6 separate regions of the Homo sapiens genome follow, and regions 2, 3, 4, 5 and 6 are each linked to region 1. The links are contacts of gene promoters, found by promoter capture Hi-C in human tissues and cell types (Jung and others, 2019). All regions are on one chromosome and are shown on one strand. Each heading gives the region's core, a stretch centred on a gene start or on the middle of the fragment in contact. The rest is flanking DNA. Distances are from core to core; before and after follow the strand shown.

Region 1 (4,241 bases), core at 1,324-3,823:
GGTCCAGGCCATGCAGAAAGAATGGTTTTCAAATGCTGAAGATGGTAGGCTGGGAACAGACCACGGATACAAAGGAAATTCTTTGGCCAAGCGTGGTGGCTCATGCCTGTAATCCCAGCTACTCGGGAGGCTGAGTCAGGAGAATTGCTTGGACCTGGGAGGCAGAGGTTGCAGTGAGCTGAGATTGCGCCATTGCAACAAGAGCCTGGGCAACAAGAGCAAAACTCCGTCTCAAAAAAAAAAAAAAAACCAAAAACAAAAAACTTAAAAAATTACAAATGGATTAAAAATCTAAACGTGAAAAGTAACACTATCATGTTAATAGAAGGAAATGTAGAAAAATGTCTTAATGAAGATACCTTAAAAACCTATACAGGGGAAAACTGATGAATTTAACTTCATTAGAGTTAAATGTTTTTATTCAACACAGTGCCATAGATTAAGTTAGAAGACTTGGAGGTGGTATCTGCAGAGTGCAAAACCAACAAGGACTTGAAATCTTTATTTTTTTGAGACGGAGTTTTGCTCGTTGCCCAGGCTGGAATGCAACGGCGCAATCTCGGATCACTGCAACCTCCGCCTCCCTGGTTCAAGTGATTCTCCTGTGTCAGCCTCCTGACAAGCTGCAATTACAGGTGCATGCCACCACGCCCGGCTAATTTTTGTATTTTTAGTAGGAGACGGGGTTTCATCATATTGGTCAGGCTGGTCTCGAACTCCTGACCTCCGGTGATCCACCTGCCTCGGCCTCCCAAAGTGCTGGGATTACAGGCGTGAGCCACCGCGCCTGGCCTAAAATCTTTTTTTTTTTTTTTTTGAGACAAGGTCTTGCTCTGTTGCCCAGGCTGGAATGCAGTGGTGCGATCTCAGCTCAGGGCAACCTCTGCCTCCCGGGTTCAAGCGACTGTCCCACCTCAGCCTTTTTAGTGGCTGGGAGTACGGGCGTGCGTCAACACGCTCAGCTAATTTTTGTATTTTTGGTAGAGATGGGGTTTCACCATGTTGCCCAGGCTGATCTTGAACTCCTGGACTCCAGTGGTCCACCTACCTCAGCCTCCCAAAGTGATAGGATGACAGGTGTGAGCCACCGGGCATGGCCAGGATCTAAATCTAGAGCCTACAAGAATTCCTGCAAGCCAGGAACATAGGAAATCCACAGAGAAGTGGGAAGGGATATAAACAGGCAATTCAAAAAAGGGAAAACCCACGTTTAATAAACACATGAAAATGTAGGCCGGGAGCAGTGGCTCACGTCTGTAATTCCTTTATGCACTGCCCGTCGGGAAGTGTAATCCCTGCACTTCGGGAGGCCGAGGCGGGTGGATCACCTGAGGTCAGGAGTTCAAGACCAGACTGGCCAACCCCCCCATCTTTGCTAAAAATACAAAAAATTAGCTGGGTGTGGTGGCGCGCGTCTGTAATCCCAGCTACTCAGGAGGCTGAGGCAGAAGAATCGCTTGAACCCGAGGCGGAGGTTGCAGTGAGCCGAGATCATGCCACTGCATTCCTGCCCGAGCAACAAGAGCAAAACTCCGTCTCAAAAGAAAGAAAGAAAGAAAGAAAGAAAATGTACACGATGGGATACCACCTTACACCCCCCAGACTGATAAACATTACAAAACCAGCCGCCACTGAACGATGGAGGGATACCGGGAAACAGGAAGCTTTATGCACTGCCCGTCGGGAAGTATAAACTAGTGTGACCATTCCAAAGAACAATCCAGCAAAATTAGATATGACCAGGACCCAACTCTGGGGTGGATACCCAGAGAAATGCAACAATATGCACAAGGAGACAACTGCCAGAATATTCGTTACAGTGTGGCTTGTGGGGGTGTTAATACTAGAAAAAAATCTATCCACCACTAGGGGAATAAGTCTATGCACACAGCACCCCTCATGCAAGCACTCAGAAGTGAAAACAAGATGACTAGCATGGATGGACTCAAAAACACAATGTTGAGGAAAAAGGTTTAAAGAAAAATCACAGCATATTATATTGAAGAATTCGAAACCGCTATATAGATTTCAAAGTAACACTTGCACAAATTTACCCAAGGTGGACCGTAAAGCCACTTATATAACACACCAGAGTGGCTGTCTGAAAAGGGGAGTGAAAGGGGTCTGGGAATAGGAACGAAGAGAGGAAGTGATAAAATAAACAAGGAGCCTTGCATTGGCCCACAGGGTGTCAAGAACTGAGAAGGATCAACTCAATTTTGTGCACCTGAGGTTCTTCTTTTCAAAAAAAGAATGCCAGTTGCGAGGGTGAGGGTCCCACACCGCAGGAGATGGCACAAGTCCGGCCAAGAACGGAGGGGGCCGCGGCCGGTGCGGAGCGGCCTAGAGCGGCGGGAGGGCGGACGCCCCTTCGAGAGCTCCTCTTTCTCTCAGAAGTCACGGGGGCGAGACGGGGGCGCCAGGGCGGCGGACGAGGCACGGAGGGCAGGAAAGCCCATTCCCTACAGCCCGGAACTCCTGCTCCCAAACCTCCTCCCCGACCGCCCTGCTTACCTGGCGCCAGCTCCGGGCGCGGGCCCCGCGACCGCCATGACCTGAGACCCGAGGGACTCTGGAGCCCAGCTGCCCCTAGTTCAGTACTGGGTAGAGTCCGAGGAGGGGCGGGGCCCCGGCTACCACAGAGACGGCGTTTGATAGAGAGGAAGGTGCGGGAGACGCGGACTCTCCCGGAAGCGACCGACGTCTCTAAAAGTACCAGAGAGTGGACTCGGCTGACCCGGCGGCTACAGCGCCCCCATATTTTCTGGGAGACTTCCCTTTTGACAATAGGTATCCGAGAGTGTAACTACTTTATGGCAAGTATTTTAGATTCTGTGTATAATAGATGTTTTACATATTCTCCCAGAGAAGCCAGCATGATCTTTAAAAAAGTATAAATTAGGCTTCCAGCCGGGCCCGGTGGGTTACTCCTGTAATCCCAGCACTTTGGAAGGCCAAGGCGGGAGGATCGCTTGAGCCCAGGAATTCAAGACCAGCCTGGGCAACATGGCAAGACCCCGCCTTTACAAAAGACAAAAGCATTAGCCGGGGATGGTGGCGAGCGCCTGTGGTCCGAGCTACTCTGGAGGCTGAGGCAGGAGAATCACTTGGGCCCGGAAGGTCAAGGCTGCAGTGAGCCGTGACTGTGCCACTGCACTCCAGCCTGGGCGACAAAGAGAGACCCTGTCTCAAAAACAAATAAATAGATGATAATGATCGATAGATAAGATAGATAGTTGAATGAATGAAATGCTTATCAGTTGACTGATTAGTACCCAAAGGGAGGTGGGAAATGGCTCAAAAAAAACCCAAACAGCATGATCCCACAGGTCCCTAAATTTGAATCTGGATGTGTCTTCTCACTTTCCTCCAATCCTTATTAAGTTTCAACTGCAAGCCAAACACTCTACAACATGCATGTATCACTTGTCTTTATGAAAGTTGCAGTCTAGCTGGGTAGGTCAATCAGTTGACAATTACAGATTTTTTTTTTTTTTTTTTTTTTTTTGATACGGAGTGTTGCTTTTGTTGCCCCGGCTAGAGTGCAATGGCGCGATATCGGCTCACGGCAACCTCAGCCTCCCGGATTGAAGCCATCCTCCTGCCTCAGCCTCCCGAGTAGCTAGGATTACAGGCATGTGCCACCACGCCCAGCTAATTTAGTATTTTTAGTAGAGACAGGGTTTCTCCATATTGGTCAGGCTGGTCTTGAACTCCTAACCTCAGGTGATCTGCCCGCCTTGGCTTTCCAAAGTGTTGGGATTACAAGAGTGAGCCACCGCTCCTGGCCTTTTTTTGTTTTTGTTTTTGTTTTAGACGGAGTTTCGCTCTTGTGGCTCAGGCTGGAGTGCAATGGTGCTATCTTGGCTCACTGCAACCTGTGCCTCCCGGGTTCAAGCGATTCTCCTGCCTCAGCCTCCCGAGTAGCTGGGATTACAGGCATGCACCACTATACCCGGCTAATTTTGTATTTTTAGTAGAGACGTGGTTTCTCCATGTTGGTCAGGCTGGTCTCGAACTCCCGACCTCAGGTGATCCACCCACCTTGGCCTCTCAAAATGCTGGGATTACAGGTGTGAATCACCGTGCCCGGCCTACAGCTGTCTTTATGAAGTGCTATGACAAACATACCATACAGCAGGGGTTCTCAACTTTGGCGCCATTAAGTTTTGGGGCCTGATCATTCTTTGCTGTGTAGGCTTTCCTATGCAATGTAGGATGTTTAGCTGTATCCCAGGCCT
Region 2 (4,183 bases), core at 1,252-3,751, 440 kb after region 1:
CTGACTTACTCAATAAACATTTATTAAATGTATACTAGGTGCTTAATAAGAGATGGTCCTGCCCTCAAGACACTCATTATGGTGGGAAAGAAAAACATGTAAATGAATAAATGCCGTAAAATAGCAGTGCTAGGGTAAAAGTTTCAGAGGCATGTCATGGGCACATAAAGGTGGAATGATTTTTTTCTACTGGTTGGGATGGAGAGGGAGGAAAGGCCAGTGGTCATGTGGTTTGAGCTAATCTTAAAAATGAATAGGTGCCTCCCCAGTAAATTAGGAATGGAAGATGAAGCATAGGAAACAGTACACCATAGAAAATCCATTAACCTATGTATAATCCCAGCACTTTGGGAGACTGAGGTGGGCAGATCACTTGAGGTCAGGAGTTTGAAACCAGCCTGGCCAACATGGTGAAACCCCACCTCTACTAAAAATTCCAAAATTAACTGGGCGTGGTGGTGCAAGCCTGTAGTCCCAGCTACTTGGGAGGCTGAGGCAGGAGAATCGCTTGAACCCGGGAGGCAGAGGTTGCAACGAGCCGAGATCACGCCACTGCACTCCAGCCTGGGCGACAGAGTGAAACTCTGTCTCAAAAACAAACAAACAAAAAACCTATGTATTTGTGGGGATTTGGTATATTATTAAGGTGGTATTTCGTTTCTGTGGGAAAAGGAAATTTCATTAACAGGCCAAATAGTCTGGAGTCATTCTGTTAGTGTTAGAATACTAATTCCACCAGTTAATATCTGTATGAGTTGGACAAACCATATAACCATCTGTTGCCTTCCTTGTTTCCTCTTTAAAGTGTTTAATCCGCAAAACAAACCTGATAAAGTGAGATTAAATTGAATAGTACCTGGCCCAAGTAAGTGTTCTTCAGTAAATGTTAGTGATTATTACACAATGGCAAGGTGGCTATCCATTTGAAAAAAAATTAGGCCGGGCGTGGTGGCTCACACCTGTAATCCCAACACTTTGGGAGGCCAAGGTGGGCGGATCACCTGAGGTCAGGAGCCCAAGACCAGCCTGACCAACATGGAGAAACCCCATCTCTACTAAAAATACAAAAAAACAATTAGGCAGGCATGGTGGCAAATGCCTGTATTCCCAGCTACTCTGGAGGCTGAGGCAGGAGAACGCTTGAACCTGGGAGATGGAGGTTGTGATGAGCCGAGATCATGCCATTGCACTCATTCCAGCCTGGGCAACAAGAGTGAAACTCTGTCTCAAAAAAAAAAAAAAAAAAAGAGAGAGAGAAAAAAATTAGTTTCCTACTTCACATGATTCATAAAAATATTTCAAGTGGATCAAAGACCTAAATTTTTTTTTTTTTTGAGACAGTTTCTCACTCTGTCACCCAGGCTGCAGTGCGTTGGCACAATCATGACTCACTGCAGCCTTGACCTTCCCAGGCCCTGATGATCCACCCCAGCCTCTCAAGTAGCTGGGATTTTTGTATTTCTTACAGAGATGGGATTTTGCCTTATTGCCCACCTTGGCCTTCTAAAGTATTGGGATTATGGGCATGAGCCACTGCACCCACCCTAAACTTATTTCTAAGCTATGGAAGCATTAGGAAAATAAATGTAAAGAAAAACGTGTTTATCACCTTTGGATAGAATTCTTAAGCAGAATCTAAAAAGATTGAAGAGTTTGAATATATTAAAATTATAGATTTCTGTGCAAGACACTCCCCTCCCCTAAAAAACAAGTGACTGATGAGATTTTCCAATACATGTAACAAGGGTTTAGAGAAATGAGTACTGATGTCATGCTGACAGAAGTGCAAATATTTATGGCCATTTTTTACAGCTGTTGACAAGATCCACTAAAATAAAAATTGCAGATATCCTGTGAGCCCAATTCTATTTTTTTGGTAACTTTATAGTATCATACAGGTGATTCACTTTAAAATACCTCTGCATGGACAACGTGATATGTATGCGAAGAAACATTCACATGTGTACAAGGAAGCAGGTAGAAGGATGTTTACTGCACTGCTGCTTATAAAAGAGAAAAAACAAACTAAATGTCCATCAAAAGGATCTTAACTGTGGCCGGGCATGGTGACTCACACCTGTAATCCTAGCACTTTGGAAGGCTGAGGTGGGTGGATTGCCTGACCTCAGGAGTTCAAGACCACCCTGGGCAACATGGCGAAAACCTGTCTCTACTAAAATAAAAAAATTAGCTGAGTGTGGTGGTGCGCACCTGTAGTCCCAGCTACTCAGGAGGCTGAGGCACAAGAATTGCTTGAACCCAGGAGACAGAGGTTGCGGTGAGCTGAGATCACGCCACTGCACTCCAGCCTGGCGACAGAGCGCGACTCCGTCTCAAAAAAAAAAAAAAAAAAAAAGCGGTGGGGGGTCTTAACTATGGAATGTCATGAACATCTATCTACAAAAAATGAGGTAGGTTTAAAATGGGCAAAGGACTTAAACATTTCTCCAAAGAAGATATACACGTGGCCAAGAAACATGCAAAAAGATGGTCAATATCACTAATCATTAGGGAAATGCAAATTAAAACCACAATGATATACTACCTCACACCCCTTAGCCACTATTAAAAGAAAGAAGCAATAGTTATTAAAAAGTATTTGTGAGGATATGTAGAAATTGTAACCCTTAGCTGTGCACTGCACATGCCCATAGTTCCAGCTACTCTGAAGGCTGAGGTGAGAGGCCTGAGCCCAGGAATTCGAGGCTGCAGTGAGCTATGATTGCGCCATTGGACTCCAGCCTGGGCAACAGAGCAAGACACCGTCTCTAAAAGAAGCAAATCAGAACCCTTGTGCGCTGTTCCTGGAAATGTAAAATGGTATAGCCACAAAGAATATGGCAGTTCCTCAAAAAGTTAAAAATGAAATTATCACATGATTCCAGCAATTCCACTTCTTGACATGTATTCAAAAGAATCAAAGATCTTAGAGTATTTGCCCACCCATATTCATCACGGCATTATTTACAATAGCCAAGAGGTGGAAGCAACCCAAGTGTCCATCAGCAGACGAATAGATCAACAAAATGTGCTCTCTACATACAACAGAATATGAGTCACCCTTACAAAGGAAAGAAATTCTGACACATGCTGTAACATCGATGAACCTTGAAGCCATTGTGCTAAGTGAAATAAGCCAGTCACAAAAAGACAAATACTGTGTGATTCCGCTTATATGAGGTATCTAGAGTAGTCAAATTCACAGAGATGGAAAGTAGTGTAGTGGTTGCCAGTGGCTGTGGGGATTGGGGAATAGACAGTTTAATGGGTATGGAGTTTCAGTTTTGCAAGATGAAGAGTTCTGGAGATTGGTTGTACGACAGTATGAATGTACTAAAGCCACTGAACTGTATGCTTTAAAATGGTTAAGATGGCCGGGCAGGGTGGCTCATGCCTGCAATCCCAGCACTTTGGGAGGCCGGGGCAGGTGGATCACCTGAGGTCAGGAGTTCAAGACCAGCCTGGTCAACATGGCAAAACCCGGTATCTACTAAAAATACAAAAAAAATAGCTGGGTGTGGCAGCACGCACCTATAATCCCAGCTACTCAGGAGGCTGAGGCAGGAGAATCACTTGAACTTGGGAGGCGGAGGTTGCAGTGAGCCGAGACTGTGCTCCAGCCTGGGTGACAGAGAAGAACTCTGTCTCAAAATAAATAAAATAAAATAAAATGGTTAAGATGGTAAATTTTCTGTTATGTGTCTTTTACCGTAATTAATATAAATGAGATTGAGCTATATCACTTAAATGGAAATAACTATGACCTATTATTAAGAGAAACTAAATTATAGAACAGGTACAGTGTGATATTGGTTTTAAGTTTTAATATCACAAATATTTAATTGTTTATTTAGAAATATACAGTATATATATAAATGGATAGAAAAAGTTCTGAAGATAAAGCTTTCTCTTCCGTCTCTTCACTGGTACAGAATTCCTTAAATAAATTAATGTCAGGCTGGACGCAGTGGCTCATGCCTGTAATCCCAGCACTTTGGGAGGCCGAGGCAGGTGAATCGCCTCAGCTCAAGAGTTCGAGACCACCCTGGGCAACATGGTGAAACCCCATCTCTACTAAAATACAATAAAGTAGCCAGGTGTGGTAGCACTCACCTGTAGTCCCAGCTACTCAGGAGGCTGAGGCATGAGAGTCGCTTGAGCCCAGGAGGAAGAGGTTGCAATG
Region 3 (4,376 bases), core at 743-3,242, 270 kb after region 1:
TCCACCCTCCATGATGCGCCCCCACACATGCCCATGCACAAGCTTAGCAGGTCTGGCTTATTGAACAGCAAACACAGGCCTGACTCCAGATGTGTTTACCCCACTCGTGGGCCTGCCCCGACAAGCACACTGTAGACTAAGGCAGCTAGGGACCTGGGTCAAAGATACACTTTCAGGAACTGGCCAAAGTCCCAGCCTGCCCTTTCCGCTCTCACAGGGGCTGGAAATTTACCCCGGGGCCATAAACAAAAGGAGATTTCTATGGGAACTAGGGCCCCAACCTGGAAAGCTTCCATTCAGCAATCTAGCAGCCCAAATCTGTCAACCTATGATGTGCCAGGCCTCTGCTAAGGCATTTTATTTTTTTATTTACTTGATTAGTACAGCAACCCTATGATACAGGAACTAGTGTCCCCATTTTACAGAAGAGAAAACTGAAGCACAGGGAGCCTGCTAACTTGCCCGGGGTCATCCCCAGCAGGGAAGTGCTGGGCCAGGGTCTTCAGGCTGAGCTCTGTCTGCCTCTGGGGGATGAGATTCCCTTCCCCACCCTGCTGCTCACCCTTGGCTGTGACCAGAAACCTCCCAGGTCTGGAAACACCTTCAAGTGCTCTGGGCAAATTCTCAAAGTTTCTGATGACCGCTGCTGCATTTCTGAAAGGCTCAGATAACCCCCGAGGCAGGGGACAAGTAAGAGTGGGTACGGTGAGACTTTGAACAAATGTACAGAACCATGAACCAAATAAACCACTTTTCTTTATATTAAAAAAAAAAAAAAGAGTGGGCACGGTGGCTCATGCCTGTAATCCCAGCCCTTTGGAAGGCTGAGGTGGGCGGATCACTTGAGGTCAGGAGTTCGATACCAGCCTGGCCAACATAGTGAAACCCCGTCTCTACTAAAAATACAAAAATTAGCTGAGCATGGTGGTGGGCACCTGTAATTCCCCAGTTACTTAGGAGGCTGAGGCAGGAGAATTGCTTGAACCTGGGAGACAGAGGTTGCAGTGAGCCGAGGTCATGCCACTGCACTCCAGCCTGGATAACAGAGCGAGACTCCATCCTCCTCCCCACCAAAAAAGACTGGGTGTCATTTATAGAGGACCAAAAATGTGCCAGATGCACTTACGTGGATTAGTCAATCCTTCTGACAATTCCATAAGGTAGCAATGATCATCCCCAGCCTACAGATGAGAACACTGAAGCTCACAAGGTTAAATCACTCACTGTAGGCTGCATAGCTAAGTGGTGGAGCTGAGATTCAAACTCAGGTTTATTTAAGACATAAATTATTTCACAATTCTGCCCTCACACGCTACTGCATTTTGTGGAGCCTCTGACCTTGTCCCAAGAACATCAAAAAAGAAAGAAATGTGGAATTAATTTTTCTCCCCTGGAAGGGCGTGGCCTGGCTGGGGTCTTGAGAGGATACCGCCAGACCCCTGCAGATGCAGACTCCCTCAAGTGGCCTCTGCTGCGGGCACTCGCGGGTGGACATGTTACATCGTGGGCAGGGCTGAGGCTCCAGGAGGAAAATGCAGCGTAGGCGACATCTGGAAGCAGAAATGTGGTAGCTCCAGAAGTTTTCATCTGTAATCTTTGTTTTGCAAGGAACAGGGATTTTTTTTCTTTTCAAAAAGTACTCCACTTCCTTTTAGACCTTTCACAAATATTTTTGTAGGAGAAATAAGGAGAAAAAAAAAAACCCACAGAATGCTTGTCGCAGCTACTCACTTCCACCATGAATCACAGACACAAAACCACAGCTATGTGGCTAGCAAAGCAACTATGTGTTTTCACATTTCATTATTGGGAATCATTTAGCAATCTTCCCGGTGTCATCTGCAGACAGATAGACACAGACAGACGAATACACCCCTCTGGGTCCCAAGCAGCCTCATACAACACAGTCATCAGATGACTTTGCAGTTAATCCATTTTCCCCTTCTAATCCTTTTCTGGGAAATTATCCTGCCAGGTTTAAATCTTCCCCTTTAGCCCTTCTGCAGAGGTGGGGTGTGTGTGTGTGTGTGTGTGTCTGTGTGTGTGTGTGTGAGAGAGAGAGAGAGAGAGTGTGTGTGTGTGCATGCGCCATGACAGGGGGAGGAGGAGGAGTGCCGAGACACTGATTCAGTTAATTTCACAAGTGGAAACAAGTGTATGTTTCAGAATGCCTCCCTTTTTTTTTTTTTTAAACTGTGATCATACTTTGCTAAAGTTATTTTCACCTGGGAAGCTCACAGTGCCTTTTCTGACCGTGGCAAATTAATTAACTGATGGCAGATTTAAAGATGGAGTAACTGGAAAAACTACCGGACCCATAAATCAGAAACCTCCTTTATGTCCTGGACAAGAGGTGAAACCTGATACATATTTGAAAAACTTGAGCTCAAAAGGAGAATTCACGGAGCCTGAAAAAATCTCCATTATGACTTTTGAGACATGTTCTCTCCACAGCTTCCACCCACGCCCCGCCACACACACACGCATACACACACATACCCCCGCAGAGGGAGACCCTCACTGAGTGAGCAGCCAGTTCTGTAAAAAGCAGCCGGATGGGGCGAACCTTCCCTGGGCCATCTGAAAAAGAGCTTTGCCAGTCTTTCCTCTCTTTTCTTGCTTCATTGCTCCCAGCCTCTTCCTTTCAAACAAAAATCCTACAGGATTTAAGTTGGCTAGATGCTATGAACATAGCTACAAGCTTGAAATGTTTATTGTCACTAGTTATTTTAAGTCCGGTGCTGGAAACTGTATACATTAACATTTTAATGAGGCCGAATGCTGCTCCAGGCTCTCACCGACTTCTGTAGTTTTCTGAAAAGACGCTGGATACCTTGCCTAACCCAGTACTCTGCAGTTTCCAAGCCAAGCTGGATGTTTCCGCACTTGCCTACGCTCACATGCCCTGGAGGCTGGTTCGCACAATGACTATAATCACAAGTTCTGAAGTCGAGGAGAGCTAGGCTGGAATCGCCCTTACCCTCAGTGTCCTCATTGCAAAGTGGGAGTCATGGGAATACCCTCCTCACAGGGTCATGGCAAGGACTGGCAAATGTGCTGAAGATCTTCCACTTGCCCCTGGATCCCTCTCCATCCCACTCTGAGTCCTGGGAGATTCCTTTGCCCTCTGCCTTCTGGTCCAGTTCCATCAGTGGGGAACTGTGGCAGGAGGTCAGAGGGCAGGAGAAGGGTGAGTGGAGGTGCAGATCCTCCCAGCTCCCTCGCAACAGGTACTGCAGGTGAGCAGTGGCTGCATTCCTCCACCAGAGGCCGCAGCCCTGTCCATGGCCCTCTCCTATAGCCTGAGCTACCCTGGGTTCTTATGACTGCTGGTCCCTTGCCCCTTTAGACCTGGAGGGTAAGAGCTTGCCTACGTAACTACCCTGGGATACTCCACCATTATTCATTGTTTTCTCTTGACTCTGCCAGTGCTTTTGTAAATAAATACATCGAGTGTGCCATCCCTTTCCTGCTGGAACTCTAACTGACCCAGACAAGAAAAAGTATTTGCTATCGAGTACTGAGCACTTACCTATGTGAGCCGGCACTTTATCCACATTCCTTTGTGTTATTCTGACCACAGCTCTGCGCAGCCAGTATTGGTATCATCAGTCTTTCACATTGAGACTCGGGGAGGTGAAAGAACACACTTGATAGCACGACTGGGGAGTAACCGAGTCAAGTGGAACCGGGATCTGTCTGACTCGTGGCCCATGCTCTTAGCCACTGTGCCGAGCTGTCCCCAGTATTAAATTAGGTGGTGCCTGTAAACTGTCAGCTTATTCAATAAGGCTCCATCAATGGTGGGTTAGAACAACAACCACACATACAATCGAAAACACCCACAGTCCTAAATGTTACTTTAGCATAACCCTAACCCAACCCTGACCACAATCCTAAGATTAAAACCTCACCCTAATGCTGCACTGCTAAAGTTATTCCTCTAATCTTACCCTAACCACTACCGTACTGTTAAATAGAATGTCACCCTAACCACAACCTTAGTGCTAGTCAATCTTAACCCAAACTTCCGCCATGGTAACCATAATTCTAAGCACACCACTAAGGCCATGATGAGCTCTGGGGAACCTCTGCACCCCTGTGCTCCTGGGTGCTGGTCCCTGTGCTATGCCATTTATACTCCACTATTTGGACACGACACAATTGACCAAAAGACATTTGTACAACATCCATGTCCTGCATGTCACTGAGCTGGTGACTCTAAAGTGGGGACAGCAAGGAGGAAAAGAATAGGGTAGGAATCTAGCACAATGCCTGAAACACAGCAGGGTGCAATAAATCCTACTGATGATGAAGATGATGATGATGAACTGGAAAAGGTAGCTTTCCCCATCACCGAACTGTAGGCTCTGGGA
Region 4 (4,182 bases), core at 908-3,407, 420 kb before region 1:
AGGGACTGGGGGCAGGATTGGGGGTTTCGGAGCTTGTGTAACAGTTTTTGGGATAGGAGACCAGCGGTTTTGGGTTGGGATTAGTATGGGAAGATAAATAACTTAGGTTGGTTAAGTTGACAAGATTTACTCCAGAGGATCATCTCTTTGTATTTGCCAAATAATTTACTGTATAGCCTAAAAACTCCATATATATTGAGAAAAGCATATGTTTATTTTAGGTTAGCAGGCACATACTGTCAAGTTGTAAAGATTGAGAGGGCAAACAGATGTAAACATCACTTGTAGGTGATTAAAAAGATTGACAGCCGGGCCTGATGTCTCAAGCCTGTAATCCTAGCACTTTGGGAGGCAGAGGCGGGCAGATCACTTGAGGTCAGGAGTTCAAGACCAGCCTGGCCAACACGGTGAAACCCCATCTCTCTAAAAATACAAAAATTAGCTGGGCGTGGTGGCACACGCCTGTAATCCCAGCTACTCAGGAGGCTGAGGCTGGAGAATCATTTGAACCTGGGAGGGGGAGGTTGCCGTGAGCTGAGCTTGCACCATTGCACTCCAGCCTGGGCGACAAGAGTGAAATTCCATCTCAAAAAACAAAAACAGATTGACAACAAAGACAGTTTCAGAAAATGACAGGACTGGGCAAATTAACAAATGTTTGTAAACATGAATGTTCAGGAACTACTGATGTACCTCAAAAGTTTGTTTTATTAATTGTACTCAACCCTCGCAGAACAGTAAAACTGAAGATTATTGTTTCTGAATGTTTTGGCTTATGATTGTCTACACACTGCCAATATACTTTTGTATGCAACATTTGTAATAAGTAGATTCAAACTGTGTTGGTAATCAGCCTCCCCAGTTTTCGTGAGTGGCCCTTTTTTGTTACTTTTCCTGGACCATTTCATCGCCTGAGGGGGTTTCACTTTTCTCTGTATGTTGCTAACTCCCAAATCTCCATCTGTATTTCTGACCTCTTTCTTGAGCACTGGACCTTTACCTCCAAGTAAATATCCTCAACTCTGGATTGCATCTTATACTCTGCTTTTTTCTTTTCTTTTCTTTTTTGAGATGGAGTCTTGCTCAGTCGCCCGGCGTGCAGCGGCACGATCTCGGCTCACTGCAACCTCCGCCTCCCGGGTTCAAGCGATTCTCCTGCCTCAGCCTCCCGAGTAGCTAGGATTACAGGCGCGTGCCACCACGCCCGGCTAATTTTTGTGTTTTTAGTAGAGACGGGTTTTCACGGCGTTACCCAGGATGGTCTCGATCTCCTGACCTCGTGATCCGCCCACCTTAGCCTCCCAAAGTGCTGGGATTAAAGGCGTGAGCCACGGAGTCCGGCCTACTCTGCTTTTCTAAAGTGGAATTATCTTCCTCTGAAATGTTTCTCCTTTATTTTAAATCACCATTAGTAATTTGTGTACCCAAACCTGTCATCAAGGCTTATCTTTAACCTTGAAAATGCCTTTTTAAAGAGAACTCCTTTAATTCCCACGGTTGAGTCTCTCATTCTTCCGCACGCAAATATTTTAAAATAAGTAATTTCAAGAAGTCAGTCAAACTCACAAAGCTTTAACAAGGTGGCATCCAGCTTGGAAGTCAAGTGTTCAAGCCCGCAGTCGGGACATCCAAGAGCTCTTTACATCCTAATTACAACACGGAACCCAGACTCACTGCATACCCCGTCCCGTATATAATGCAAAACTTGATTCTGCAAGTTCCTTTCTCGGGCGGTGAAACTTCGAAGGTCCTCTCCATGGAGACCTTTGATAAATGTTTAAGCAGTGATCTTTTCTTTCGCGTTTGCCTCCATTGCAACGCCTCCGCTGATGGGAAAAACTACTCCCTCCGCTACTGCGGGGTGGCAGTGACGTCAACGAATTAGCTGACCTGTTTTTTCGGGCTTCGCGGACATAGGAGTCCCGAAGGCCGAGAGTGAGTGAGTGAGTGGGAGCGGGGCGGCTGCGGCTCCTCCTGTCCGGGGCGGAGCCCTGCGTCGCGGGCCTGGGGAGGCCCCGCCAGCACCCTTGACGTCTGGGTCCCGAGCAGTGCGGCAGCCACACGACACTGAGGCGAGCGAGTGGGTGTGTGCGTGGGGGGTCAGCCAAACTTCCTGTCCCGCGCTCGAGCTGCTTCCGGCGGGAGCCGGAAGACGCTGTGTGTGGACGGAATTCGGGACCGACTGACGGCCGGCCGGCTTCCCGGAACTGGAAGGTGAGCTCCGAGGTGGGCCTGGCCACCCCTCCTCGGTTAGGTAGTACCCGAGAGGGCGGGGGCCAGTACCGGCTACTTGGGGCCTGGGGCCGAGTTCGCCCCGAGAGAGGAAACCGCCCTCCTTGGGCATCCCTCCTGGATCTGGCGGGCCCGGGAGCGGCCAGTCTGAAGCCCTGCGGCTTTGGCCCTTCCCCTCGCGGGTTTTTAGGGGCGATGTTCTTGCTCCTTTGCTTGGTTTTGGGGGTAGGGATATAGGAACAGACTGTCCTGAGAAAGCCAGAGTCAGCGAGTCCCCGGGGCGGGGGCTCTTGGACTGCACCCGCAGCCGGGGCCTGCCTACGGACCTTGGGGCCTTATTTCTGAGGCCTTTGTGGTGTGGGGTAGAGGATGCCAGGAGGCCTTGCCCTGAATGTTTCAGTCCAGAGCTACCCTCTCCTTTCATACCACTTACTTTCTGGGTTTGGAAAAGGGACAGCTGCCTACTCGGCTGGGCTGGGTCGCCCGTTTCTCCTTTGCCTGTCAGTTCGGGGGGCAGGAGTGTGTGGATTGTTTACGGCCTTCATACATTTCGTGTCGAATTTATTTTCTGAAGTTTCTCAAGATAATCCAATTTATTAAAGTTTATCCCACTTGATCATGAGGCTCAGAAATGCATTTAGGCACCATTTGGAAGTTAAATATTATTAACTTGGGACTTAAGAATTAGTACTTAGGTTGGAACGAAGGTCAACGCAGCATATTTGCAATAAATAAAAAACATTTGGAAATAAAGTCGGGCATTTTGTTAGGGAGTGAGAAATTGCACTTGGTTTTTTCTTAGTGTGGTGCAGAGTAAAAGACAACTAAAGTAGCAGTCAGAAGTTTTAAGTTCTAGTTTTTTACGTTTTGCATCTAAGTAGATGTCTAATTTTTGGCAAGTTGCTGAATCTCTAGCTCTGGGGAGTTTTTCTGTAAACGAAGGGGTTTACCTTTAGGGCTATGACAATTTTTCCGAGGCACTGAACTTTGAGTAGAAGTGACATAAGCATTTCTTTGTTTTGGAAAGATAACTTGAATGGCTGCATAAAGGATGTATTGGAAAGAGGAATTTTAAACGCGGGGTGACCAGTTAGAGGCCTGTTTTAATAGTATAGTAGAAAGTTACTGAGAGACCTAAACAGGGCATTACAGTAGGGAACAGAGAACATTCTGGGAACAGAGAATCACGGGAATTATTTAAAAATGGAGAATGAGAGAGATTTAAAGACCTAGAATTTGCAGCTGAGTGGGAGGAAGATTGGGCGATCATTGAAATAGGTAATACAAGAAGAACAGGTTTGGTAAGGAAGATAATAATCTGGATTTTGGACATTGTTAGGTTTGAGATGCTGTTGGATATACATGTGGAGATACCTAGCAAGCAGTTAGAAATGAAGGTTTGGAGTTCAGAAGAGATGACTAGAGAAAAATGTAGGTATCATTTGTAGTGTCATTCATTCATTATACAAATATTTAGTACCTACCAGTTGCTTACTGGGAAGCTTGTATGGAAGCCCTTTAAGCTCATAGTAAACACATTAGAAGTGGGAAGTGACCGTTAATGGGCACAGGGTTTCCTTGTGAGGTGATGAAATATTGTAAAATTGATCGTGGTTCTGCTTGTACAACTCTGAATGAACTAAAGATATTTTAATTGTACTCTTTAAATGAGTCAATAGTATGGTATGTGAACGATATCTTAGTGAAACTAATTTTTAAAAAAGATTTACATTGCAGTTTTGGAAATCTGTTGAGTAAGGAATTGGGAATAGGAATGTTTAATTGTGTATTTGCCGTTACACCTATAGCTAATGTACATAGTACGTTGCTCTGTTAAAGATGAGATCCCCACAGTACACTTGATAAGATACTGAGTGCTCTAGTACAAATTCTTTTGAGTTCAGTTGCATATCTTAATGCATCCTGCTATTTTTTATTTTATTCATACCG
Region 5 (4,033 bases), core at 92-2,591, 300 kb after region 1:
TGATGAGTCTCAGAGGCATGACTCGGACAGACAGCCGACCTCATTTGTAAATGGGGATAAAAAATCCAATCTAGCTTATAGGGCTGTTGTGAGGATTAAAAATGAACAATATGAAGTGCTTAGAATGGTACCTGGTGCACAGTAAGAGCTATCGCGTTCATATCATTCATCCCCAAAACCAACTCTATATAGATTGTTATGCCCATTTTATGGACGAGGCCCTGTGGCTAGAAAAGGGCCAGTCACTTCCCCCAGGACACAGAGCTGGGACTCAAACACGTCTCCAGGGATCTGGTGCCAGAATCCAAAGTACATGCTCTTAATCTCGAGCCTTGCTGCTGGGGGCAGGAGTGGGAGAGTAACTTGCCTGCCCCCTCCTCGACAGCTGCAGGGATTCTCTTCTGTCCTCCCCAAAGCAGCCCCAGCCCCTGTGCGTCCAGGCTGAGATAAAATGAGAAGTCTAGGGAGTATTCAAATCCCCTTCCCCAGTTGGGGTGGGGTTGGGCGGGAGCCAGTCTGGGAAGAATGGACAGTCTTCCAAAAGCTGCAACTATAAACAGGACACTGTCACTCCACACCCTCCAGTTCTTCCCCTCTGCTGGGCAGGGCCCGGCAGGCCGCAATCAGCTGCCTCCACAAATACATAAACACATAAGTCCCGAGAGAGAGCTGGCAAAGCTACAGAAGGAAAGGCAGATACCAAGACTGGAGGAGGAGATGGCGGCCCAGCTCTAGCCCCCGCCAAGGTGGAAGGAGGGGCTGGGCTTCCAGCAATGGGCACCTGCAGAACAGGGCGGAAGGAGGGCAGGCCCGGGAGATGGACTGGTGTGTGACAGTGACCTGGGATTGATTCTGCCAGAGGCAAGAGAGGGCAACTGAGCAGGAGCCAGCACTCCCTGAGCATGGGCAGTGGGTTGGGCCCACAGATATCTGGGAGAGACTGAGTCTCCCTGTGGTTCTGGCACTAGACTTTACTCTTGGCAGTGGGGGATGTCAGCCCCCATCTCTCACTGGCCCAGGAAGGCATCCCTTCATGTGTGAAACTGCTAGGACAGAATCATGAACATTCCCCAACATTGGCAGTCTCTGCCCCAGCCAGGAGGGCAGCTGTTGGGAGGGGAGAGGGAGGTGCGGAGCCACAGGGGTGGGGGAGAGCCAGCTGACGGGGTGTGGAGCCAAGAGCCCCACCTTCTGCGGAGCTCTGGATGAAGCCATCCAGTGCCAACACCCCACCGCCCGCCTGCGTGGGTTCTCATTAGGCTTATTAGCAGCCAAATAGCAACAAGCAAACAGCACAGGGACCAGTTAATGAGCACACAGCCCTGCCACGGGCGAGCCAACTTCAAGTGGGAGGGGCTGTTGCCCACTGGCAACTCCCTTCAGGAGAGCAGCTGGCCTGTATGCCTGGGTCAGGGTGGGTGACCGGGGGCAGCAGGGTGAGACGGCCAGGGAGAGAAATACCAGGGGAGAAGGTATGGCAGCATCCTACCTCAGCATCCTGGCGCAGCACCCACTGGGGCACAAGGATGCCCCCACACACATGCACTGGTACTGTAACAGTATGCAAACTCACTCAACCTTGAGTTTCTAGGGTTGAAACTCCAGTTTGGCAGAGAATAACACTGGAACATCACTAGCAAGTTAGGAAACCGAGAACCTCCAGGGCTGGAGGGCCCAAGTGAGACCTATGCCCAGACCCCTGGGGCAGCTGGGGAAAGGCCCACCCCCTATGAAGCCACCCGCTGCAGCTTCAGCTCAAACCTCAGCAACATTCTCCATCAGCCAACGCTGCCTCCCAACCTCCCAACAAAGGCTAAGCTCTCTCAAACATACCAACCCTCTTCCTCACCTCCAAGTCCCAGTCCCTCCTGCCCAGGCCTCCTGAGTCCTGGAAGGCCCTGCTACTCAAAGTGTGGTCCCTGGGCCAGCAGCGTCAGCGTTCCTGGGAGCTGGTTAGAACATAGAATATCCGCCCCACCCCAGATCTGCTGAATCAGAATCTTCTCTTTGATGTGATTCCTAGAGGGTTGGGGGAACATTCAAGTTTGAGGAGGGCCCCCAAGGCAGATCTTCCTATGACTGACCCCCAACTCTGCTCAGTGATTTTTGACCACACCTAGAATCACCTGGGATGCTGTTAAAAAAATTACAGTGCCAGGCCCCAGCCCCAGAGCCTCTGCTTAGCATAAAGCCACCTGGCCGCCCACATCCCTGGCTTCTCTACCCAGAGGAGTTGCTCAGAGCTGATTTTGAGTCTCAGGTTCTTTTCCAATAAGGTGTGTGGCCTTGAGCAAGTCACCGCCTCTCTGAGGCTCACTTTCTTCTTTAAAATTATGAGGGGCTGGGCGTGGTGGCTCACACCTGTAAGCCCAGCACTTTGGCAGGGTGAGGTGGGAGGATCACTTGAGGCCAGGAGTTCGAGACCAGCCTAGCCAACATGATAAAACCTTGTCTCTACAAAAAATTAATTAATTAATTAAATAAAAATAAATAATGAGGGACAAGTGTTTCTCCCCACCGGTGCCCCTGACCACTGAGGGCCTGACCTCTGAGCCGCCCCCAGGCATCCACGTTCCCTGAAAAGGAAAGGGTGTTTAAGCAGATCTGCTTCGTTGTTTGTTTTTGAGTTTTTGGCTCTGGTTCTGTTATTTGGAGGTCCTAGGAGGGACCCAAAATTCTGCCTGAGCTGCATCTTCAAACAGGCAGAGGGTCAGGGCCACGAGGCCTGAGGCAGAAGCCAAGAGCTTGGTGAACCCATATCTCCAGACTCGCGGGAATGGGAGCAATCGCATCGCATCCCATCAAGTGGGGTGTTAGGACAACCACGTTATCATACGTTATCATAGAATAACGTATGATGTTCCCAGATGAAGGCATCCATCATGCTGGGAACATCATACGTTTTTTCACACACCTGGACTATTAGCTGTGAAGCCCTCCTACCGAGAAGGGCCTGGGGCTGGTCCTTGAAGGAAGGGAGCTGTTGAGACTGAGGCTTTGCAGCCAGGCTTGGGACTGGCAGAGGCAGGGGCAGTCACCTGAAGGATAGTCAGGTGGAGTTCCTGGGGAGCTGATGTGGACCCAAGAGGGGCCTGTGGGAGGAAGGAGAAAGATCCAACGGGCTCCCTCAGACTCCCATATCTGCTATGGTCTGTGGGGATTCCACACTCTGGAATATCCAGGCCTCGCTGGTGTCGGGAGTGAACGAAGCCCAGGAGATCGGAGCCTGGAGTTCTGGAGTCAGTCTGCCTGGGTCCAGCCCGAGCTCAGCACTTGCAGCAGCAGAGCTTGGCCGTGTTTCCCAAGCAACCCGAGCTTCAGCTTCCTTATCTGTAAGCCACGATGATAAGCATACACCTACTTCATAAGATGATTGACAGGTCGAACTAAGATAATGCATGTGAAGAGCTTAGCGCAGTGTGGGGCACTAGTACATACTCAGTTGTTAGCTAATAGTAGCAGTAGCAGCAGCAGTGACAGCAATAGTACCATCACCTCCAGTTCACAGATGCAGAAAGTGAGGCCCAGAAATGAAGGTAAGATACCTGGCAGCAGGGTACAGGTATTAAGAAGAGGGACCCTGGTGTCAGGTTGTCTGGATTCAAATCCTAGCTCTGCACTTCCTGACTACATGACCTTGGACAAGTTACCTGATTGTGCTTCACGTTCCTCATCCACCCGCCACAGAGGATGTTTAAAGTGCACCCTGCACAAAGTGAGTGCTATGAAGGTACTGGCTCTTGTTGTTGTTAATGCTCCTGATACCATCAGTGGAAGAGGCTCAGGTGTGAAGGCTCTAGCTCTTCCTAACTCACTCCTTGGTTTCCACAAAATAAGATGGCTTTTCTCTCCTTCGAGCCAGCCTGCCAGGCATCAGAGCAGTCCAAGGGGAGACGGCTCCAGGCATGGGTCACAGTGTCATCTGACCATCCTGGTAGAGTGGCTAACAGAGGCCAGGGCCATTGGGCCAGGGGCCAGGGCAGAGGTGGATTCTCATCACATGCTACATGAATGGTGCCCTTGGAAATGTGGG
Region 6 (4,256 bases), core at 1,393-3,892, 380 kb after region 1:
CAGCAAGACAAAAGCAGCCAAACACAGCAGGCAAATCCACAGAGGCAGCAGATGAGTGGCTGCCTAGGTCTGGGGGATTTGGGGGAAAAGTGACTACTAACATGTATGGGGTTTCTTTTTGAGGTGATGAAAATGCTCTAAAATCGACTGTGATGATGGCTGCATTTAAAGAACCATTAAACTGTATACTTTAAAAGGATGAATTTTATGGCATGGGAATTAAATCTCAATAAAGGTATTATTTTTAAAAAGGAAAGACAGGATGGAAAGAGAGAGAGGGAAGGAGACAAAGGGAAAAAGAAAGGAAAAAAGAACCTACCAGGTTGAAAAATTTTGTAGTAGGGACTATATGCCACATTTAATCCACCAAGCTTCACTGTGATTTCATAACGCCCAGCCTTGCGCACAGTGAAGGCCACTTTTACTACGTTGGAATTGGGCTCCTGAAGGACTTCCTGGGTCACTGGAATTTCCACTGCTAGCTCGACATGAGAGATGTGAACTCTTAGTCCCACAGGCCGATGTGCAGGGAAAGGCTGCCCGTTCTTATAGAATAACTGCCATGGGGAGAAGAAGGACACCTGTTAGCAAGCAGAGGAAAAAAACATTTCCTGTGTAGAGTGAGTGGGGAGAGAGGAAGTAGCTGGCAGAGACCACACCAGTAAATCCCAGTACCTACCCTGTTCCTCACAGTCCTGCTCACAAAAACACAGAGAGAAACAAATCCCCTCAATACTCTAAAGAAAACCATTAAGTCATGAGCAAATTCTTAACTTGTTCAGAGGACAAGGGTAGAATTTACCACTAAATCAAGAAAATGTCCATTTTAACTTGCCACTTCTGAACCACCAATGCTGCCTCCTTGGTCTTACCAGCCCTTTATATTATCAATGCTAACCCAAATTTAAAGGTAAGTTAGCCGGCAGCACTGGCAATGAGTGAACTAAAGCGTTACCAGACAAAGGTAGGAGGGGTTCAGACTCTCAAGCCAAGCTTAATGCTACAGTGGAGAAGTCAATGCAGGAGTTGGGAAATTTTTTCTGTAAAGTGCCAGAGAGTAAATATTTTGGCTTTGTGGACCGTACACAACTACTCAACTGTCATAACTACTCAGGTGTGAAAACAGCCATAGTCAATACATGATGAATGGGTGTGGCTGTGTTCCAAGACAAATGTATTTAAAGAAACAGAAGGTGGGCCTGATTTGCTAACCCCTATCTATAATACTTACTCTTTTCTGTAATATTTTTCTTATTTTGAAAAGGTAACATTAAGCTTTATACTTCTTCAAAGCTAAGGACCTATTAAATCAAAATGACAGAGAAATTTGTGACTCTTCAGATAGTAGCAATTCACTAGTTCCTGGAGGGAGTTGAAAAACAAGAGAAAATGTTAACATTCCAGGCCAGCACCTGGGCTCTGGAAAGCAAGTTACTCAGAAACCCCAATGGGTATGGAGACAGAAACATTCCCTTACATGCACTCGGAAGGCCATGCTGTGGCCCACCTCATAGGGGTCCTTCCAATCCCAGGAGACTTTGCAAGACCGGGGATCCAGGTAATTTCCCCGCACGTAGTCATAAATAGTCCGGTCCCCTCGGCGCTCGCGGTCCTCATTCTGGAGGAAGCTGACTACACGTGCGGCAAGCTCAAAGAGGAACTTAATTGTGAAGAAGAATGCAACCACAGACACTGTGATTCCACCTATGCAAAAGAGAGAACACACAAACCGCCTGCCAGTTACACATTACAGCTTTTCATTATGCAACAGGCCAGCCATTTCTCAAAAATTAAAGGAGGTCAGGATGAGACTGTAAGACTGCCAAAGAAACACTGCACTGGGCACTACCTCTGTAGATAAGAAAGGAACTTCTACACCAGGGGTCAGTAACTACAGTCCTCAGGCCAAAGCCCACCCACTGCCTATTTTGGTAAATAAAGTTCCATTGGGATACAGCCACACCCATCATTTATAAATTGTCTATGGCTACTTTTGCACTACACTGGCAGAGTTGAGTCATTGAAATGAGCCTTCGGAACCAAAAATATTTACTCTCTGGCCTTTTATAGAAAAAGTTTGCAAACTCTTGCTCTATATGAGCTGCATATAATGTCCGCCCTGCTCCCTACCTTCCTGCACTTGCTGGGCACCCCACAGAAGCAGTCAAAAGGATGTGCCTTTGGTTCCCACCATTTCCTTCTTAAAGAATGCATTATTTGGGAGCCCTCCCCTCCCTTGTGTACTTGGCAAAAGTCTTCTCCAATCCCCACCAGAGTTAGCAGTTCCCTTTTCTGGGCTCCTTCAAACTCCTACACATTCATCTGGTATAACTTTTCTCCTCCTTGACCGTTCCCCTTTATGTTATGAATGCCTACTCCTTGAAGGCAGATTTTTGTCTTATTCAACTTTAGACTCCACAGTAAACAGTGTCTGGCATTGACTATAATTGCTCAATAAACCCAAATGAATGAATTCCAATGCCAACTCTGTGAAGGTACATTCTGGCACGACTAGAAATATTTTCAGCTCCATTTTCAAAGGGAAAAGAATAGGCAGAAAGGCAAAAAGGACCCAAGCAACCTTTACAAAAATATAATAGAGAGAGCTCTTTCCATAACGTACCAATAACGTAAAACATCAGGTCCCGTCAATGCCAACAGACAGCCGAGGATCACAGCTGCAGCTGTTAAAAGAAAACTTGTTTAGTTTTTGTCTCCAACTCTGCCTCATAGCTATCTCAGAGTAAGACAAAGAAGAGTGTATGGCGTGAGCCAAACAACTCTCTCTAGTCCAGAGCCTTACTATTCCTATCCTCTTTCTAGCTTGACAGGTGCCGTATAATATATTTCAGAGAAACAAAGAGACTGCATCATTCCCCTTAAAGACTTCCAATCTACTGACCACTCTAGGAATACCACAAACAGCCACTTGCTTTATTGCTAATTTCAAAATGCAGTAACATGGCTTTCATCTTCTTAGATCCATAGTTCCCAAGACAGTTTCCCTCCCTCATGCAAAGTGGTGCTAATTAACACATGCAAAGAGGGTAATGGAGTCACTTTCCCCTTATGTTTGCCTTTTGGGAGTAATTCAGCTAAGTAGAAATAGCTATATAAAATGTAGATTTTTTTTTTTTAAAGCAAGTATCATTATCATCATGTTGGCATTATGTAATTAAAATGAACTCTGGGTCATCCCAATAATAAGCAGTGGGTCTGAAAGTGAAGTCATTTATGCTGTTACCAATCAGACAAACTAATGGGCCCTCTGGAAGATGAGCTCAGCAGAAAGACCAAGGAGAGGAACAAAAGGAGACTGTACTTCTCATCCTCAGTCATGCCTGTCAAGGTAGGAGTCTGAGGGAAGACTTTCACTGTTGTTAAACTTGTTTCCAGAATAAGACTTCAATCTTAATTACTCATTTGATCATGTGAACCAATAAAAGTACTGCCAAGGAAAAATGCAATGTATGCTAACGTTCATATCTTATCACTGAGTCTGACCTTAGCACAGGCTGTATATGCTATTTTACAATGCATGAATGCACTCTTTCTTTTCAAGTCAGCGTACACTAAGGCTGTCAATGTTATCTTGACCCAACACCTTTTATCAGCACTAGAATATTACGTAGAGACAAGACAGCTAAAAATTTCTAGGCTCAGATCTGGGAGGGACCAAAACAACTTTTTTTCAGGGTGTGTTTTTACATCTGATTGTGCTTGCTTAGTTCCTCTGATAACAATATACCCAGTGGAACCCACAGAGAGTAGGTAATTTGAGGAATGACCGTCAAAAGTTTCATACAAATCCTACTTAGAGTGATTATCTAAAGTCCTACTAGAAAAGAAATCCACACTGGGAACATTAGAATTGTCACGTGGATGAAGGTGCTCCCAAAAGGGTCTATTACAGACAATATAAAGAGCCAAAATTTGGGATCACAACTACTGAACCTCCTTCCCAAACAAGTATCTCATCTCTTGGGACCCTATGCTGAATTAGCTGGGGACCCAACAGCTATCATCTCAAAAATCTGCTACGATCTCTCAAAAAGCATCTGTCTGCATCTTACAGGATGCACTAGATGACTTGGTGGGACCAAAACTGGCAGTTTAACTGCCTTAGGTACTTCCTCAGCGGGATGCCATTCGATCTGACCCTAGATGTGAAATTTCTGGTCCTCAGGGAAGTTACAGCACTCAGCAAAGAAATGAAGTATATGTGGCTGGTGTTACAGATTTGTGGTCTTCTTAGA

What was found. The method cuts DNA at HindIII sites, captures the fragments that hold promoters and counts their contacts. A contact is called where the count stands out against the background at its distance.
Region 2: a contact is called between a fragment that was not itself captured here and the fragment with the promoter of ABCD4 in region 1, in 2 of the 25 tissues and cell types used here (hippocampus and liver).
Region 3: a fragment that was not itself captured here is called in contact with the fragment with the promoter of ABCD4 in region 1 in 2 of the 25 tissues and cell types used here (lymphoblastoid cells and spleen).
Region 4: the fragment with the promoter of ZNF410 here is called in contact with the fragment with the promoter of ABCD4 in region 1 in 1 of the 25 tissues and cell types used here (pancreas).
Region 5: a contact is called between a fragment that was not itself captured here and the fragment with the promoter of ABCD4 in region 1, in 1 of the 25 tissues and cell types used here (hippocampus).
Region 6: a contact is called between a fragment that was not itself captured here and the fragment with the promoter of ABCD4 in region 1, in 1 of the 25 tissues and cell types used here (bladder).

Annotation. Positions count from the first base shown.
Region 1 is chr14:74,300,361-74,304,601 of GRCh38, forward strand. It overlaps ABCD4 (ATP binding cassette subfamily D member 4), which reads right to left and starts at 2,574. Exons shown (of 19, transcript NM_005050.4): 1 at 2,515-2,574. The coding sequence starts at 2,552. It also overlaps a transcript of VRTN not described here. RefSeq lists a silencer at 2,323-2,402 and an enhancer at 2,663-3,022. The HindIII fragment of the contact is 36,493 bases long and covers 7-4,241 here.
Region 2 is chr14:74,736,764-74,740,946 of GRCh38, forward strand. FCF1 (FCF1 rRNA-processing protein) reads left to right here. Exons shown (of 8, transcript NM_015962.5): 8 at 1-1,857. Among named protein-coding and RNA genes, the nearest start is that of YLPM1, 24 kb to the right of the region's middle. The HindIII fragment of the contact is 3,351 bases long and covers 827-4,177 here.
Region 3 is chr14:74,570,272-74,574,647 of GRCh38, forward strand. All of the region lies in intron 3 of LTBP2 (latent transforming growth factor beta binding protein 2), which reads right to left. Among named protein-coding and RNA genes, the nearest start is that of LTBP2, 40 kb to the right of the region's middle. The HindIII fragment of the contact is 5,179 bases long and covers 1-4,376 here.
Region 4 is chr14:73,884,702-73,888,883 of GRCh38, forward strand. It overlaps ZNF410 (zinc finger protein 410), which reads left to right and starts at 2,158. Exons shown (of 12, transcript NM_021188.3): 1 at 2,158-2,214. PTGR2 (prostaglandin reductase 2) reads left to right here. Exons shown (of 10, transcript NM_001146154.2): 10 at 1-1,025. RefSeq lists enhancers at 407-516, 2,148-2,217 and a silencer at 1,818-2,097. The HindIII fragment of the contact is 8,605 bases long and covers 1-4,182 here.
Region 5 is chr14:74,598,925-74,602,957 of GRCh38, forward strand. The region is part of intron 2 of LTBP2 (latent transforming growth factor beta binding protein 2); the gene reads right to left. Among named protein-coding and RNA genes, the nearest start is that of LTBP2, 11 kb to the right of the region's middle. The HindIII fragment of the contact is 8,248 bases long and covers 1-4,033 here.
Region 6 is chr14:74,682,977-74,687,232 of GRCh38, forward strand. It overlaps AREL1 (apoptosis resistant E3 ubiquitin protein ligase 1), which reads right to left. Exons shown (of 20, transcript NM_001039479.2): 3 at 2,624-2,684; 4 at 1,478-1,704; 5 at 320-557. The coding sequence starts at 2,639. Among named protein-coding and RNA genes, the nearest start is that of AREL1, 28 kb to the right of the region's middle. The HindIII fragment of the contact is 5,032 bases long and covers 127-4,256 here.